Linked DNA regions of Homo sapiens: region 1 is linked to region 2. The links are contacts of gene promoters, found by promoter capture Hi-C in human tissues and cell types (Jung and others, 2019). All regions are on one chromosome and are shown on one strand. Each heading gives the region's core, a stretch centred on a gene start or on the middle of the fragment in contact. The rest is flanking DNA. Distances are from core to core; before and after follow the strand shown. Region 1 holds the start of NOVA2 (NOVA alternative splicing regulator 2). Region 2 holds the start of IGFL1 (IGF like family member 1).

Region 1 (4,176 bases), core at 1,243-3,742, 260 kb before region 2:
CTCCAGGACTGGGAACAGCAGTGGGGCAGGAAGGAGGGAAGGAAGTCGGGGACATATTCATGTGTGTGCTGGGGGTGGGGGAGCAGGAAGAAGGACAGGAAACTCCCTCCCATCCCCTCCCCCAACTTCCCTTTCCTCCAATTTCTGCTGGACACCCTCACAGGCATCCAGGGGGTCCCTGATTCCTGTCCCACCTGGATGGAGGTGGGGGAGGGCTAGGATGGGAGGAAGAAAGTCGGCTTGTATTCATCTGTAGGGAGGAGGTAGGAGGCCCCCACCCCACCCACTGCCAGGCCTGGCGGAGAGGAAAGGGTGCACTCTGCCTGAAGCCATCCCTCTCCCATCCGGAGGAAAAGGCCAGAGGAAGTGGAGATTTTGGCAAGGTGACCGCGGGGAGGGGCTTGTCCGCTGCGGGGTCTCCCTCCTACCAGGGAGCTAGAGGACAGGGCTCTGAGGACCCCAAAAAACCCCACCTCTTCCCTGAGCCCCCCACGGCAGGGCATGCACCTAGAGTTCCCAGCTCGGCTTTTCTTCTCTGGTACACACACCTCCTTGGGTCACACACCCAGGGAGAGCCCCTCTCTTCCCTCACACTGCCTTCCGTGGTGTCAAACATTCGGCAATCTCCAATACACACGGACACACACACAGCCTCCCTTGTCAAACACATGCAGAATCATCCCCATATCTCTGGTGTCACACACTCAGCCATTTCACACACACACCTCTCCTTGTTACACCCATACACACAGCTGGGTGTCATATGCACACGTGCCCTGTCACATGGGGACCCATCCTTCCTTCTCCTTTTTACACACCCTCGTGCGTTTCACCCACAAGCCCCAGCCTCTCCCTCGTCATACACCCACCTTCCCTGTTGCACACACCCCCTCTGATGTCACTGTTGCACACCTCCATGTGTCACACCCAGCCACAGCCTCTCTGGAGTCACACCCACACCCTTTTCTTGTCACATCCCCTCACCAGCCACGCCTGTGTCACACACACTGGACCCCTTTCCTCTGATCTACACGGCCTCTTCTGGCTGACACCCAGAGCCAGCCCATTCGGTGTCCCCCACACACCTCCTTGCATGTCACACACACCCTCTCATGTGTCACACTCTGCCACAGCCCCCTTGGGGGTGACAAGCACACACCTTTCCTTGTCACACGTACCCGCTGGAGGGTCTCAAACATGGAGCCCAGCCCCTGTCCCCTGTCTTTCTCATACACCCCCCTATGCTGTCATATTCCTGATCCCTAATGTCACACATCCAGGCTGTAGAGGGCACACATACACACACACGCACACACATACACACCTGTCCTAGCCTCACATTCTCCCACCTAGCTTTACACACCCACCATTTCCTCCATTTCACCCCACACACCTACCCAGCCTGTCCCCACGCACGATCCGGCCAGGGCCACACAAGCCTCCATCTGGGACAACCCTTGTTCAGGACATCCCCAGGGAGGGAGGCTGGGAAGCTCCCGGTCCACAGGCCTCTACTCCTTCCCCTCCCCCAGCCAGGACACGCGAGCTCGGGGAACACCCCTGCTCCGAAAGGGTCACATCACACACCCCTCAAGGACACACAGACACCTGCCCTGAGGCTCCCACGCCCCCCATCTTCTGCGCCCCCCAAGGACACTTATCACCCCCTCCCCCCCACCCCTCTCCTCGCAGACAAAGCTCCCAGCCCCGGGCCTCAGCGAGAGGAGGAGGGGGTCCAGCCCCCTCCTCAACTCCCCGCTCTGTCCCCCGCCTCGGGGAGGGGTGTCTCTCCCCTCCCCAGAGCCCTTGCACCTGCCACGGGAGGGGGGGAAAGGATGGAGAAAGGCGAGGCCCCCTGCCCGCTCCCCCGCCCCGAGCCGCAGCCCTTTCTCACCTCCCGTGTTGCTGCGCTTGGTGCAGACCACCTCGGGGGGCGTTTCGAGGGGCCTCTTGCGGGAATCCGGGGCCTCGGGCTCCATGGGGGGGGCCTGGGGCGGCGGCTGCTGCTGCTGCGGCGGCTGCGGCGGCGGCGGCGGCGGCTGCTGTGGCGGCGGCGACGGCTGCTGGGGAGGCTGGGGTTGCGGCGGCGGCGGCGGCGGGGGCGGCGGCGGCTGCGGGGCCGCGGAGGCCGTGAAGAGGCCGTGCACCGCGCCGGCGGCCATCATCCTCATGGTGGGGGGGGGCGGGGGGCGGGGGGCGGGGGAGGGGGAGGGGAGGGGAGGTGGGAGGGGGAGGGGGCGGTGGAGGGATGGGGGAGGGGGAGCCCCGGAGAGGGAAGGCGGGGGTAGGGGGGAGCCGGTTCTCGGGGGGCTGACAGAGCCTGGAGAGCGGCCGTGAGCAGGATGGCAGGGCCGAGGGGGGTCTCCGATAGGGCCGGGAAAGAACTGAGAGGTGGGGTCTCTCCTGGGACCACAGAGGCTGGGGACTGGACGCGCCACTGGGGGGACGGGACTCCCCGCTTCTTCTTGGCTCCCTGGGGCAAGAGGGCCGAGCCCCCCAGACCCTGCTCGGGGTGGGGGGCCGGAGGAGCGTGGCCGGAGTGGGAGGCGGAGGCGGCCGCTAGTGGGGGCCCGGGGGGCGGCGGGCGCGGGCGGCGGCGGCGACGGGGCTGGCGGTGGCTGCTGGCCCGAGCATCTTCTTCCCGGAGGCTCCCACAGCGCCTGGCCCCTCCCACCCAACGAGGTCACGCCCATGCCGGGTAGGGCCACGCCCTTCGGCGCCCCCATTGGTCCAGCCTTGAAGCCTGGACCACGTCCCTCTGGGTTGGCCACGCCCCTCCCGGCGGCAGAGAGCTGGACCCGACTCCCCCAGGCTGCTGGGAGGACCCCGGGCTCCTCCAAGCCGTCCCCACTCCTCACCTTGAATGAACGTTTATTGAGCACTTACTGTGTGCCAGGTCCGGTTCCAAGCAAGCACGTCACAGACGTTATCGCATTTACTCCCCAGAGCGACCAGCTCTGTGAGTTACGCTTATTATCCCTATTTTACAGATGAGGAAACAGCCTTAGGAGCTTACTTTGACTTCACTTGGTCAAGACAAGAAATTTCGACTAGGCGCGGTGGTTCATGCCTGTCATCCCAGCACTTTGGGAGGCCGAGGCGGAAGAATCACTTGAGCCCAGGAGTTTGAGACGAGCTGGGCAACAATATTGTGAGACCCCATCTCTACAAAAAAAAAATTTTTTTTTTAATTAGCCAGGCGTGGTAGCACATGCTTGTAGCCCCAGGTACTCTGGAGTCTGAGGTGGGAGGATCTCTTGAGCACAGGAGTTTGAGGCTGCAGTCAGCCATGATCAAGCAACTAGATTCGAGCCTGGGAGACAGAGCAAAACCTTGTCTCAAAAAAAAAAAAAAAAAAGAAAGAAAGAAAGAGAAAGAAATTTCACTTCACTCTTTTTCAATCCTTTCAGCTGGGAAATTCCCCTTCAAATCTTTCATCCATCCTTTGAAGAATCAACACCGTGATGCTGAAAGGGCTCAGAGGATTGAATTCACTGAGCTGGAGTTGCAGCCTGCAGCACCTGCCCTGGGGCACAACTGGCTCTCCATTCAAACAACAGCACTCAGGGCCTACCTACTAAGTGCCAGGCACTGTCCCTGATGCTGCGATACAATAGAGAACAAAACAGCCTTGGCCCTTGTACAGTATTACTACTCATGTCATTAAGAAAAATTTGTTTTCAGATGACAAAGTGGAGGCCTGGGAACATTGAGGGTGGCTTCTTCAAGGGCACACAGCTTGAGAGAGAGAAACTGGGATGAGAACGCAGGACAAGTCCAATTTCAGAGCCCAAAGTCATTGGAACTAGGGTGCCTTTCTTTGGAATGGATCATTGCTATTATTCTGTGTTCCTTGATGCAAGAATTTCCTTCTCCCTGGGTTCTTAACCTCCAAGGAATCTTTCCTTCCTGGGTTGGTCAGAGGCAAGATTAGGCTCAGAAGGGGTCTGGATGCAGGTAATTGTGGCCACTGCGTGATCTGCGGCAGGGGGATCGGCTCCAACCCCCCCCTGCTCCTCCCTTGCCATGCTCTCAGGTCCCCAGGATGGGGGAGGGTAGCAGATGGCCTGGGGTGGATGGGGTGGCTACCCATCTGTCCCCTCCCCCCCATTGTCCCCAGAGCCAAGGGGGATGGGAGGGGGCTGTGGTCCACTGCAGTCTGGATCCTCCCCCTCC
Region 2 (4,125 bases), core at 1,615-4,114:
GTGAACAGAGCCTTCCTGCCCTTCCCAGAGGGGCCAGGCCTAGGGAGTTTGGCAGCCCTTGGGTAGGAGGTCAGGAGACCTGGGTCCTGGCCCAGCCTGTGTCACTGACAACCAGCAGCAGAACCTCAGCCCGTGTCCTGCTTGGATCCAGGAAGTGGGTGAGAGAATGATGGTGATGGTCGTTTGAGGTCAGGGTTTACATTTACTGTCCAGACACCTGGGATCTTCTCCAGACACTTGAGGACAGGCTTCCACTGGGAAATCCTGGTCCCACCTCACACATCTGGGTCCCCAGGCAGAAGACAGACCCATGCCCAGACGTGGACGCTCCAGAGTGGGCATGTTAGGAAGGGGGACTCCGAGGGATTGGTGGCGGGATTGGACATGGCTGTGTGCACAGACTCTTCTGACACCTTAGGAAGGTGCAGGGACAGGGTTTGAACGCAGGGCTGACTGACCCTAAAGCCTCCTCATGTCTAATTGGGGGCTCTTAGTGTCCAGGGAGCCCTGGACGGGTGCCCACTGGCCTCACACTGTCCCAGCCTCCGAGGCCTCCATGATCTGCTAAAATCTCCCTCTACCTTCCAGATGCTGCATTGACTCAGCTGCTCTGAGAGGCCAGGAAGGAGCAGCTGGACTCCTCCCTCCTCAGAGGTGCCCACCTTGCCCCTGCCCTGGGGAAGGTGCTCCACTCTCTCACTCTGGCTCATATGCAGGCAGCCTTGCCTCTTCTTGGTAGAGACAGTAAGACCAGTGCAGGGCTCCACTGCAGCCTCCCAGAAAATGCCTGGAACCAAGGACCTGAGAACTCTACCCCTTTATGGAAGACATCAAAGGGGAGACATGTCAGTGGCTCTTAGAGAAGAAGGAGATGATCCTGGAGGCTTCTGTGCTCCCAAGTGTCCTCACCATTTGGCTGTGACTCCCTCCAGAAACTAGATATCTAGTTCTAGATATGTGCTATGCTATCATATAATAATATCATACGATAGAACAATATAATAATATTCTATCATTACTTGGAATATACACAGTCCCAATAAGAGGGTCCTAAACAGGCTGGGCGCAGTGGCTCACACCTGTAATCACAGCACTTTGGGAGGCTGAGGTGAGCAGATCACTTGCGGTCAGAAGTTCAAGACCAGCCTGGCAAATACGGTAAAACCCCATCTCTATGGAGAATACACAAATTAGCCGGGTGTGTTGGCGGGCATCTGTAATCCCAGCTACTCAGAGACTGAGGCAGGAGAATCACTTGAACCTGGCAGGCAGAGGTTGCAGTGAGCCAAGATCGTGCAACTGCACTCCAGCCTGGGCAACTGAACAAGGCTTCATCTCAAAAAAATAAATAATTTTTTTTAAAGTGTCATAAACAGTTGAGCACAGCATTCTGTTGAATGCACACTGTCCCATTTTCTAACCCATTTCTTCACTTAAAAATAACATTGTTTATGCCCAAGTAAATTGATTTTCCATGCTACTAGCACATCCTAATCTGTGTCCTAGAAAACACTGCTGTACCCCACAGCAGCAAGGAACAGAGGCCAAGGGAGCAGACAGGGAGATGGTGCTGGAAGCAGGGTCTGCTCTGTCGAGGGAGAAGGTGGGTGCTGAGCACTCTGGTATTTATTGAAGTCATTTCTCTGCAGCCTCTTCCTGTGTCTCCTGCCTCCAGAGAGAAGCCCCTATCCGTGCTCCCCAGGAACACAGATGCAGGATCTTCCACACACACAAATCTAACCACATCCATGCCCTGCTAGGAGCCAGCCATGGTGCCTAGAGGGTGACAGGTCACCTTGCCTGGCCCGGAGGAGAACGGCTTGTCCATGCCATGTGTGGCCTGTGAGCTTGAGCGGAGGAATTCCTGCAGAAGCTGGGCAGGGGTAGGGGGGCACAGAACTGACCCAAAACAGCTCCTTCCCCTCTGTCCTCACATCCTGACCCCAAGATGGCTCTTCTCAGGGAAAATCACAACCCAACCCTCTGAAAAAGCACATTAAGGAAAAACACCTTTGAGAATCTCAGGGGGGGATGTGGAATTTCTCCACCAGAACTTCACAGTGATAATGACACCAAACACAAGAACGACAATAACCAAAATCAGGAGTTTTATTCTCCTACCTTCTCTCTCTCTCTCTCTCCTCTCACTGTCATGAACGTCACGAAGACACTGACTTTGCGTTTTCTACTCAGCACTGCATCACTGGTGTCTGACACGAAGCCTGGGACATGTAGGCTCCCAAGTGGACCTGTCCTGGGTAAATGACCATTAATGAGACAGAGAAGGAGATGAAGAGCCCCCAGAGGAGTGTTGAGTCCCAGGGGTCCCGCCAGCTCCACTCCCACCTTCCAAACCTGTGAAAGTCAGGTGCCTGAGTCACACAGTCTCTCCCACCTGAATGCCATGAGCTGCAGGTGACTGAGAAGTTACTGGATTCTTGACCATGTGTTTCGGTTGTGAGGTTGGGACCTAATGGGACCCTTTGAAATGATGTCATGGGTTAGCAATGTCCCAAGGAAACTGAGGAAAGTCATAGCTCAGTAGGATCCTGTGGAATCGCTGTGTGGACATGTGAGTGTCGGAGAGTGTTAATGCCAGGAGCATCCTGAACCTTCCTATTTTCCAGAGGACTCAGTGTGGGGGACGATTGGGGCACATAGCACAGAGAAGGTGGAGGGTGTACCGCTTCTCTCCTGATTACAAAGGTGAGATCAAAGCTACAATGACACGTACCCTGCCTGGCACCTCTCCTGCCCAAGGACCCAGCCTGTCTCTGCAGGACTTGCAGGAGGGCAGGAAATGCCATGACATCACCAGCTCCACTAGAAATATGGGATAAAAGGAGTGGCTGAGATCTGCTGATCCCCTCCTCACTCCACTGCAACCACCCAGAGCCATGGCTCCCCGAGGCTGCATCGTAGGTAAGGAGGACAGGACCCCATTCCCACCTGAGCCCATCTCCAATCTCAGCCACCACCAGGGCTCTCTCCCTACCCCAAACTACACCTCATCCCTGTTCCCATGCCCAGCCAAATCTCCAGGCGTGAATTGCTCACAGCAATTCCCCATCCATAGTGCCCAGATCAGCCCCATCCACAGCCCTGTTTCAGTCCCTGAGCTGCTCAAAGCCATACCGAGCCCTGGTTCCACCCAGTCTTCTTCTAAATGTCAGTGCCAGTCATATCTGTGGCTGTCCACTCACCCCATCTTCCCTTTCCCTTTCCCACAGCTGTCTTTGCCATTTTCTGCATCTCCAGGCTCCTCTGCTCACACGGAGCCCCAGGTGAGCCCAGGAGTGTTTGGGAAGCTGGAGGAGGGGTACACCTTCCAGGGGACCCCAGGCTGGGACCCACCTGCCACTACCTCCTGGATCTCACCAGCTCTGTCTCCTCCAGTGGCCCCCATGACTCCTTACCTGATGCTGTGCCAGCCACACAAGAGATGTGGGGACAAGTTCTACGACCCCCTGCAGCACTGTTGCTATGATGATGCCGTCGTGCCCTTGGCCAGGACCCAGACGTGTGGAAACTGCACCTTCAGAGTCTGCTTTGAGCAGTGCTGCCCCTGGACCTTCATGGTGAAGCTGATAAACCAGAACTGCGACTCAGCCCGGACCTCGGATGACAGGCTTTGTCGCAGGTGAGTCCTGTCCCCTCCGTGGGATTGTGGGTGCAGGGTAGCTGCATGCCTGTTCTGCCCTGGGTGGAGCCCCCATTCTCCTTGTCTCCCTGTCTCTGCCCCCTGCTTCTATTCAATCCACCTCTCCCTTTCCCTACACCTGTGTCTCCATCCATTTTTATTTCCCTCTCAGAATCTCACTCTCTCTACCCCGCTGTCCTCTCCTCCTGGCTCTCCTGTCCTCATTTCTGCCCATGTTCAGTCTCGCCCCCATCTCTGGCCATCTCTGTCCCGCTCAGTGTCTCTCTCTGTCACTATCTCCAGTGTCAGCTAATGGAACATCAGGGGAACGATGACTCCTGGATTCTCCTTCCTGGGTGGGCCTGGAGAAAGAGGCTGGTGTTACCTGAGATCTGGGATGCTGAGTGGCTGTTTGGGGGCCAGAGAAACACACACTCAACTGCCCACTTCATTCTGTGACCTGTCTGAGGCCCACCCTGCAGCTG

What was found. The method cuts DNA at HindIII sites, captures the fragments that hold promoters and counts their contacts. A contact is called where the count stands out against the background at its distance.
Region 1: the fragment with the promoter of NOVA2 here is called in contact with the fragment with the promoter of IGFL1 in region 2 in 4 of the 25 tissues and cell types used here (IMR-90 fibroblasts, mesenchymal stem cells, spleen and 1 more).

What each region holds. Positions count from the first base shown.
Region 1 is chr19:45,971,373-45,975,548 of GRCh38, forward strand. It overlaps NOVA2 (NOVA alternative splicing regulator 2), which reads right to left and starts at 2,493. Exons shown (of 4, transcript NM_002516.4): 1 at 1,895-2,493. The coding sequence starts at 1,979. RefSeq lists a silencer at 2,659-2,818. The HindIII fragment of the contact is 35,305 bases long and covers 1-4,176 here.
Region 2 is chr19:46,226,878-46,231,002 of GRCh38, forward strand. It overlaps IGFL1 (IGF like family member 1), which reads left to right and starts at 2,865. Exons shown (of 4, transcript NM_198541.2): 1 at 2,865-2,922; 2 at 3,231-3,284; 3 at 3,397-3,640; 4 at 3,944-4,125. The coding sequence starts at 2,898. The coding sequence ends at 3,953. RefSeq lists an enhancer at 2,213-3,412. The HindIII fragment of the contact is 10,872 bases long and covers 1-4,125 here.